Regions from separate parts of the Homo sapiens genome. Here region 2 is linked to region 1. The links are contacts of gene promoters, found by promoter capture Hi-C in human tissues and cell types (Jung and others, 2019). All regions are on one chromosome and are shown on one strand. Each heading gives the region's core, a stretch centred on a gene start or on the middle of the fragment in contact. The rest is flanking DNA. Distances are from core to core; before and after follow the strand shown. Region 1 overlaps ZNF740 (zinc finger protein 740). Region 2 holds the start of SPRYD3 (SPRY domain containing 3).

Region 1 (4,306 bases), core at 540-3,039:
ATGTGGTATCTGCCTCCTGTGAGAGGAATGAGTTAGCCAACAGGTAGCTGCGTTTGTCTGCTCAGGCACTTAACCCTCCCTTTCTTCTCAGTGTTTTTCTCGGACAGATCGATTACTCAGACACAAACGGATGTGCCAAGGGTGCCAGTCCAAGACTTCCGACGGGCAGTTTTCTCTATAGGCGCAAGGGGCCCCGGGTGGTGGGAGTGATCAGAAGAACCTGCCGAAGAGCACACCCCCTCTGGTCTGATGGTCCCACCACCGCCCCATGTGAACCTGTCCCACTCCTGGAGGAGTGGACCCAGGAGACCAGAAGAGTGCATCAGGGGACAGTGGCCCCAGAACCTCAGCTCTGTAAATAATCTGAGACTATGAGTATCTCGGGGAAGTTCTTACAGCATTCCTGGGTAGGGGAGCTAGTCCCTGGACCCTTGGCTGAGGTCATAGGTGGGGACTCAAGGTACAGGACCAAGACTGAAGTGTGGCTCCCACAACCTTGGACTCCAGCTGGCAGCTGAAATGGAAAAGATTGGGGAAGGGGATTTGTTTGTTCTGTTCTTGTTTTTGTTTATCCAAAAGCAACTTCAGCGGGTAAACTGTGGATACAGGTAATCCAGAGGCATAAGAGTCCTGGTCCAAAGTAGGGACTATAGCTGGTCCAGCTCTCCCCAAAAATTGGGTTTTTAGTTGCAGTAGCTCCTCAGTGTTTCACAATCCTGCACTTCGCCTCCTTTTTGAGGAAGAATAAGGTCAGGAATGGCAGCTGAGCTTACTTTGGCTTCCTTATACACTGTAGGGACAAAAGGAAAAACGGGGTGGAGCAGACAAGGGCTGGATCCAAAAAGTGGATGGCACCTCTTCCTTCCTCAAGGGAAAAGGAAGAGTTGTGCCAGTGGGTGTTGTCATGGCCCATGTCACATTGGCACCTGATGGCATCAGCTCAAATGCCTTTAGGAGGAAACTTGGGTGAGAGTGGCCCATGAAGCCCTTTTCTTCTTTTTTTGGGGAGTCGGTCTTGGAGATGGTATGTGGCTACCTCGCTGCCATTGACTCCTAAAGTGAGACAGATGTGTTGAGCAAGGAGTCATGGAAGTCAAAGTGGGTTCTCTCTCCTTGTGCCCTCTTAGGAACAACCCAAGACTGGTCCCAAGTTGGCTAACAGCTGCTCAAGAAACAAAGGAATCTGGGGTCTTCTGACATGCCTGTTGAGCAGTAGGAGCTGTTCTCCCTCCCCAAGTCCTATCACTGTATTCAGGTAGAGGAGGTAGGGAGGGGTCTGTCCTTTGGTCCCAAAAAACAAGATCTCGGCTTGCTTCCTGATGGCCATCCCTACCCAACAGAGTGTGGGGGATGGGGGTGGGGGTGCTGCAGAGAAAAGACTAAAGAAGAAACCTAATGTAGGTTCCATTCTTAACCATATTCTTTGCTCCTCTCTGCTCCAATACCACCACCTTGTCCACTCCCAAAAAAGTAATCGGGTGTGTGTGTGTGTGTGAGAGAGAGTGTGTGTGAGATATGAATGCATGTATTTGTATGCTTGCAGGAGATGGCATATTATTGAGCCAAACCCTTCTCTGGCCCTCACCTTCAGGGAGGATGAGTGGAAAATAGCCTCCTCTTGCCCAAACATGAAGGGTGCTTGAGGTCTCAGCAGGAGCTGAAGAACACAATTTGGGGAACAGAAGGGCTTTTGTTTTGGAGGGTTTTTTTTTTTAAGATGAATTCAACAGCCTGGTGGTTAGGATGTTTCTAACCCAAGCCAGGGCTTGTGAACATGAATTTTCTAAGGTGAAATAAACCTTTTCTTTCTGCTAAAGAAAGAATCCTTATGGGAAGTTTTGGGGTTTGGTTGACCCCCACTGTAACCTGACCTGACCTGTGGCGGGTACGGGAACTGTCTTAGTAATCATGGAGACTGGCTGAACCTGAGTGCCAAGCTGTCAGTAGGGTCTGAGATGGGAAACTCCTGAAAGTATGATTTCATTTCCCAGAAAATGTAAAGAATGGATACCAGCAATGATTCCTGGCTGTTACCTATTCTGGAGGGGTGGGGTTGGGGAGGGGGTTGTCCATACCTCTGTGGTATGAGTATTTCAGGGAAAAAGAAAGCAGGCATGGCACCCATTCGATTTTCCCTGACAGCATCTGAGATCCTTTTGGGGAGACGCTGAGGAGTGTTTGCTGCCATGTACTCTTACAGCTCTATGCTGACACTCCCATTTGATGTGGTCCAGAACTTAGACCTCAGTCCTTGGATCAGCCCTGTGGTCCCTGCAAGCAGGGGCATCTTTCTGCATGTGAGCCAGCCCCCTTCCTGTTCAAGGGTTCTGCTGGATCTGGGCTTTTCCTGTCCTTCACTTCTGGGATGATTCACCCCACATCTTCCAGTACCCTGTAAACCATTTTAAAATATTTAGAAAACTATCCTCCCAAAAATGCTTTTGAAAATGAGAGCCCTCTGTCCCTGCCACTTACAGCTAGTCTCTTTGGGATAGGGGTGTATGTGGAGAGATTCATGTAAGTCTCACATGAGTGACCTGTGCCCCTATGTGTACTAATGTGTGTACTGGGTCAGAAGGTGCCCTGGGTTCCCACAGACCTTGGTTTCCTGCCTGGGTGGGTGGGAGGGAGGGAACTTCAGAGAGTATGTGCGAACAGCCATAGCAGAGCCACCCCTGCCAAGGACCCAGTGAGGGAAACTCAGGAGCAGGTGGTTGGTTCAGTTCCCGCGCTGATGTCTGGGGCAGTGCATGTGTGAGAAGAGAGGCGCAAAGCAGTGAAAGGAGTGATTTGGCATCCAGAGGGCCCGGGAGCCCCACGGATACCCCAGGGAAGCCACTGACTCACACCGCTGCAGAGGCTCCTGGGCCCAATGCCCGACCCCTGCTGGCCAGCATGGGGCCTAGCACTGGAAGATGCCTCAGGTGTGTTTGGAGTGGGGGAAACGGAAGTAGGGCACGCTCTCAGAGACCAGGATAGAGAGTCAGGGAACCTGGGAAAGAGTAGTGCCAGTTCCGGGTAGGCTGCTGCACCAGGCCCTACCAGCTCAGGCTATAAACAGTCTGCTTTGCCCCAAGTCTTTTCCGTCCACCCCCAACAGCCTTGTCATCACTTAGCTACTGATCACGCCCATGGCTTGACATTGGAGGGTTACATTAGTGGAGTCCGCCACAGCTTCGAACCCTCTCCCCAGATGCCCTTTGCCTCTGCTGTGGCCCTGGGGTTTTATCAACTGTCCCCTTCCTATCCTCCTCTCCACCCTGTTTTTTGTTTTTTTTTTTTTTAAATAATATTTTGCTATGGGGGAGGGGAATATCAAATGGACAAGATCACTTTTAAATGGTAGTTTTTATAAGATGTTATAAACTTGTATCTTTTTACCATTAAAGTGCAGTGTATGTTCCTTCGTGATATATTTAGGATATTTAAATAAAAGGAAAATGGGGCTTTTCTACATACTATCTCCTCTTTGGGGAAGCTTTTTCATACTGGTTTTAGTTGTTTTCCTTTTTTCTCCCTACATAATCACCCCACAACTTCCAGCACCCTATAAGCCATTTTAAAACCCCTTCTCCACAGAGGAACAAGCAAGTAGGAGCAAAAACAGGGCATCAGTTCTGAGCAAGACGAAAAAGCACACGCAGCAGGACGGAAGGAGGCTAGACACCAACAGATGCAGTGTCTCTGACCTGGGACCCCCCTGCATCCGCAGCACTTGAGAATTCATAGGCCCTTTCCAGACCTGGCTTCCTGGGTCCCAGGGTGCACCCCGGGAGTTTCCTGCACATTCGCGCTTGGGCACCTCTCCCTGCCCTCAGGTGGCAAGAGGAGGATGGACAAGAGCTTTCCCGAGGCCCAGGCTATAAACAGTCTGCTTTGGCCTTGATGAGGTAAAGCAAAGTGACAGCTGTGGTCTGAGGTAAGACTTTATTGTATACTTGGGTGGGGTAGCCCAGATGGATGCAAGGTTGCAGGCATGGGAAGCAGCCCTCTTGGGTGTCACTCTGAAAATGAAGTAGGGTGGTGGCCGCACCTCGCCAGTGAATTAGTCCCCTACCAAGGTCTTACAGACCCACCCTTCCTCTCACCCTCCAGTTCCCACTGTCCTCCAAGGAGAAGAGCCTTGGGTAAGTGTCCCTCCCTCCTTCAGAGAGTGGGACTGTCTGCCTCTTGAAAGCGAGGATTGATGGTGGTCGTGATGGCACTTTTGTAGAGAGGATTACTGTCCTGGAGAAAGATGTTGCAGATTATAAGCAAAAATCCCAGGATTCCTCGTCCCCTTTCTAGACCTAAGAGGCCAGCCTTG
Region 2 (4,306 bases), core at 1,178-3,677, 110 kb before region 1:
AAAAGAAAGGCCTCTGGAGTCAAGAGCATCGCCCTTCCCTGTGCAGTGCACAGTCCCCTTCTCTGAAAAAATAAAAGTTAAAAAAAAAAAACCCTTTCCTCTCTAAGATCTGGAACAGAGAAGAAAATGTGGAAGCATTCTCCTGAACTCACCTTAAAGTATCTCCATCTACAAGGATATGTTTGAACCTCTCCTGATATCGGAAAGCTCGGACCTCTCGAATCTCCCGGATCCGCCGGCGCCAATTCAGAAACCGGTAGTGCAGGTTGAGGTCATCCATCTTGTTCATGAGAACAAACCTGCCAAGGGGAGAAGGGGATTGAGGAGAAAGCAGGGCCCTAGGTAAAGCACCTCAGCCTCTGTGACCCAGAAGGTAGAGAAGGCACTGGCCTTGAGGCCAGCTGCCCAGATTGACCTCAACAACCCTCATCTTCTTTCTTCCATTCAACAAACATTTACCAAGCACCTACTCTGTGTGCTTTTCTCCGTGCTAGGGATGGAGCTGTGAACAAGATGGACAGGATTCCCATTCTCACAGGCTGGGAGGTGGACACGACAGGCAATAAACAGACATAATTTCAGGCAGTGGAGAAAAGAACAGGGTGATATGATAAAGAATCTGGAGGCAGTGGATAGAGTGGACAGAGGCGGTCTCTCTGAGGAGGTGACATTTGAGTTGAAAAGGAGCTAGGCATGACAAGCCAGGCATATTCCAGGCAGGAAGGGCAGCCACAGGTCCTTGGATGGAAGAGAGCTGGCATGGTAGAGAAACAGAAAAAGGCATGGACAGCTGGTATATAGGGAATGTGAGGGAGAATGTACAAGATGAGAATAAGGCAGGAGTCAGATCATGGCCCTACAGACAATGAAATGGTAAGGACTCTGGATTTTATTCCAAGATGGAAATTTCTGGAGGGTTGTAAGCAAGGAAATGCCATGATTGGCTGGGTATGATGGCTCATGCCTGCAATCCCAGCACCTTGGGAGGCTGAGGCAGGAGGATCGCTTGAGGCCAGGACCCAGACCAGCCTGGGCAACGTAGTGAGACCTCATCTCTACTAAAAATTAAAACAATGAGCCAGGTGTGGCAGCATGCACCTGTAGTCCCAGCTACTAAGGAGACTGAAGATGGCTTGAGTCTGGCAGGTCAAGGCTGCAGTCAGTTCTGATTGTGCCACTACATTCCAGCCTGGCTGACAGAGCAAGACCCTGTCTCAAAAAAAAAAGAAAAAAAAATGCCATGATCCTGGGCCTGGTGGCTCACGTCTGTGATCCCAGCACTTTGGGAGGCCGAAGTGGGAGGATCACAAGGTCAGAAGTTGAAGACCAGCCTGACCAACATGGTGAAACCCCATCTCTACTAAAAATACAAACAAATTAGCCAGGCGTGGTGGTGCGCACCTGTAATCCCAGCTACTCAGGAGGCTGAGGCAAGAGAATTGCTTGAACCTGGGAGGTGGAGTTTGCAGTGAGCCGAGATCGTCCCACTGCACTCCAGCCTGGGTGACAGAAACTCCATCTCAAAAAAAAAAAAAAAAGCCACGATCTTAATCAGTTCCTAAAGATCATTCCAGCTGCTGGTTGGAGAACTGATCACAAGAGGATCAAGAACAGATGTGGGCAAACAATTCAGACGTTGTTGCAGCAGTTCACATGAGAAATGACATCCACTAAGTCGGTAGCAGCGCCGATGGATGGGGGTGGGATGATCCAGGTATTTAAACAACCATCAGTCCCTACATATAAATGAATGAATGATTTTTCCTGGGAGCCAAAAGTGAGAAAGAGGTGAAGTACTCTTCTCTTCCCATTCCCTAAACACTGGGACAGGGGTTTTCTTGAGGCCTGACATTGCCTTGCACACGGTAGGTGCTTAGTAAGCCTTGGCTGGGCTGAATTTGATCCCAATACGCAAATTACGACTCTTATGCAGTAGCTACAACCCACCACGTGGCCCAGAAGAGTAGGCACCTGTGGGACAGACAGCCCTAAGATTCCACTCCCGGGCACTCAGCCAGGACTCAACCCCAGGTAGATGCTGGTTGCGCAGACCCCACAGTCTTGGCACCGGCGAGTGGCGGCCCTACTGGGCCCTGTCTCCTCCCCGGGCACGGCCTGATCACTGAGATGAGACCCGGGAGCAGCCGGGCCCCAGCCCATCCGTGTGCCTACGCCCAGTCTCCCCAGGCCCTGCACTGGGCCGAGGGTGCAGCAACAGAAGAAGCCCAGTGACCAGAGCGCAGGGCCCCGCCCCTGGCCCCAGAGCCCCCGCCCAGGACCCCCGCCTTCCGCTTCAGGCTCCGGGGAGATACGAGGCCTCCGGGACCCCGCCCCCGATCCCCGCCTACCGGGGCCGCCGCGTCCTCCTCATCCATAGGCCTCTCAGCTCCGCACACAAGCTCTTCGGCCGCCGCCACCACACACATCCGGGTCCCCGCCTTTCCTTCACTCCTAGAGGCCCGCCCCGTCCCCCATCTAAGCCAATCAGCAACGGCCTCTGACGACGGGCACCTGCAGGAGCCAATCGGAAGGCGCAGGCAGGGTGTGGGGCGCGGCCCGGTGCCCTGGGTACCCAGCTCAGGGCCCCGGTCTGGTCAACCCGGCTGTTGCTGGGGTGAGCGAAGGCGACGTGGCAGCGCGGACGCTGCTGGGTGCCTGGGCGCCGCTGAGGCGGACAGGGGGCGGCTCTTGAGCGGCGCCGGGGAGACGGGACGGGCGGAGAAGGTGGCCACGCTCGCACAAACGTTGCGAGTATTACTTGAGCCCTCCTTCCGCGCTGGACTGAAATAAAAGCTTTACCGGAATGTCCATTTAATCCACGGTGCAGCCTTATGAAATAAATCTTATCTCCTTTTTACGGATGGGCCGAAGGCTGGCCTCGATAGCCTGCGCGCTTAACTGTTATGCTGTGTACCCTCCCGAGCTCTGTTTCATGGCACCGCTCGCTCATTATTGGCAAGAACATTCCATTCCAGGAGGAGAGAACTGGGGATGCAGAAGGCACAGTGGCACGAAGCGGCATTCTGTGGAGGAACACAGGGCTTTGGTAGGCTGAAGGAAAGTTAGACTGGGGTTAGAATGTGAAGGGACGAAGACACGAATATTTATTGAACACCTACTAGGGAGTGCCTACCTGCCATTCTGGGGGGTTGGACTCCTAGATGAGGACTTCCTTGCTCCCTTCCCATCACCATATCTCTCTCTTCTGGACGGAAAAGATTCCTCTCCTCTGTAGCACCTCATTTATAATACTTTTTTTTTTGAGACGGAGTCTCACTCTGTCGCCCAGGCTGGAGTGCAGTGGCGCGATCTCGGCTCACTGCAAGCTCTGCCTCCTGGGTTCACGCCATTCTCCTGCCTCAGCCTCCCAAGTAGCTGGGACTACAGGCGCCCGCCACCACGCCAAGCTAATTTTTTTTGTATTTTTGGTAGAGACGGGGTTTCACCGTGTTAGCCAGGATGGTCTCGATCTCCTGACCTCTTGATCCGCCCACCTCGGCCTCCCAAAGTGTTGGGATTACAGGCGTGAGCCACCGCCCCCCGCCATTTATAACACTTATTACCGTCTTGCTTTCGTTATTGGAGTTACTTGTGTGTGTAGACCCGTCTCTGCTAGACTGTGAGCTCCTTCAGACCCCAGACTATTCTATTCTTATCACACTAGGTACTCTAACGTGTTGAGTGCCAGGAAAGCCATCAGCTCGCATACCGTGAATAGTGCCCACTCGGCATAACGGCAATGGGTGATAGGAATAGATGAGATGGGAAACAGAGAAACCCGGATTAGAGCCCCAATTCTGTGTGACTAAAAGGTCAAGGTCTTGGTGTTCTCATCCCTAAACAAGAATTATTGAAGTATGTGTTCTTTTAGCTCCCTTCCAGCCCCTGGATGACTCAGTTCTGAATAGCTACCCTTCCAACTCATCTCCACCTCCTTTTGATTCCCTCATTGCTTCTCCTCCGCTCCTCTTCTTGTGTTATGAAAATACCTCAACACTGAGCTCAGCTCTTCCCAAAGGCAGCCAGAGAGGGACAATCTTAGGAGGCTGCCAGAGTCATGTTCATCCCAGACCAGGGCTCATTCCAGAAACTAACTAGCTAGGTGGCTAGGGTCAGACATGGAGAGAAATGGCAGAAGAAGGCATTTCCAAACTGTTACTGATGGTTGGTGATTCCACTCGGGATTTCCTCACCTTTAAGTTCCAGATGTGGGGCTCACCTTTTTGGCGAATTCTCCATCCATTGGCATGCTCAGGACCCAGTTGGTAATTTGTGTTTGGTGTCTACATGTATTTGAATAAACAAC

What was found. Contacts are between HindIII fragments. The study calls those that stand out against the background at their distance.
Region 2: a contact is called between the fragment with the promoter of SPRYD3 here and a fragment that was not itself captured in region 1, in 4 of the 25 tissues and cell types used here (IMR-90 fibroblasts, adrenal gland, dorsolateral prefrontal cortex and 1 more).

What each region holds. Positions count from the first base shown.
Region 1 is chr12:53,187,410-53,191,715 of GRCh38, forward strand. ZNF740 (zinc finger protein 740) reads left to right here. Exons shown (of 7, transcript NM_001004304.4): 7 at 92-4,306. The coding sequence ends at 181. It overlaps ITGB7 (integrin subunit beta 7), which reads right to left. Exons shown (of 16, transcript NM_000889.3): 16 at 3,914-4,227. The coding sequence ends at 4,147. Among named protein-coding and RNA genes, the nearest start is that of CSAD, 8.6 kb to the left of the region's middle. RefSeq lists a silencer at 2,676-2,970. The HindIII fragment of the contact is 6,057 bases long and covers 1-4,306 here.
Region 2 is chr12:53,076,963-53,081,268 of GRCh38, forward strand. It overlaps SPRYD3 (SPRY domain containing 3), which reads right to left and starts at 2,428. Exons shown (of 11, transcript NM_032840.3): 1 at 2,349-2,428; 2 at 153-299. The coding sequence starts at 2,371. RefSeq lists a silencer at 2,129-2,408. The HindIII fragment of the contact is 7,407 bases long and covers 1-4,306 here.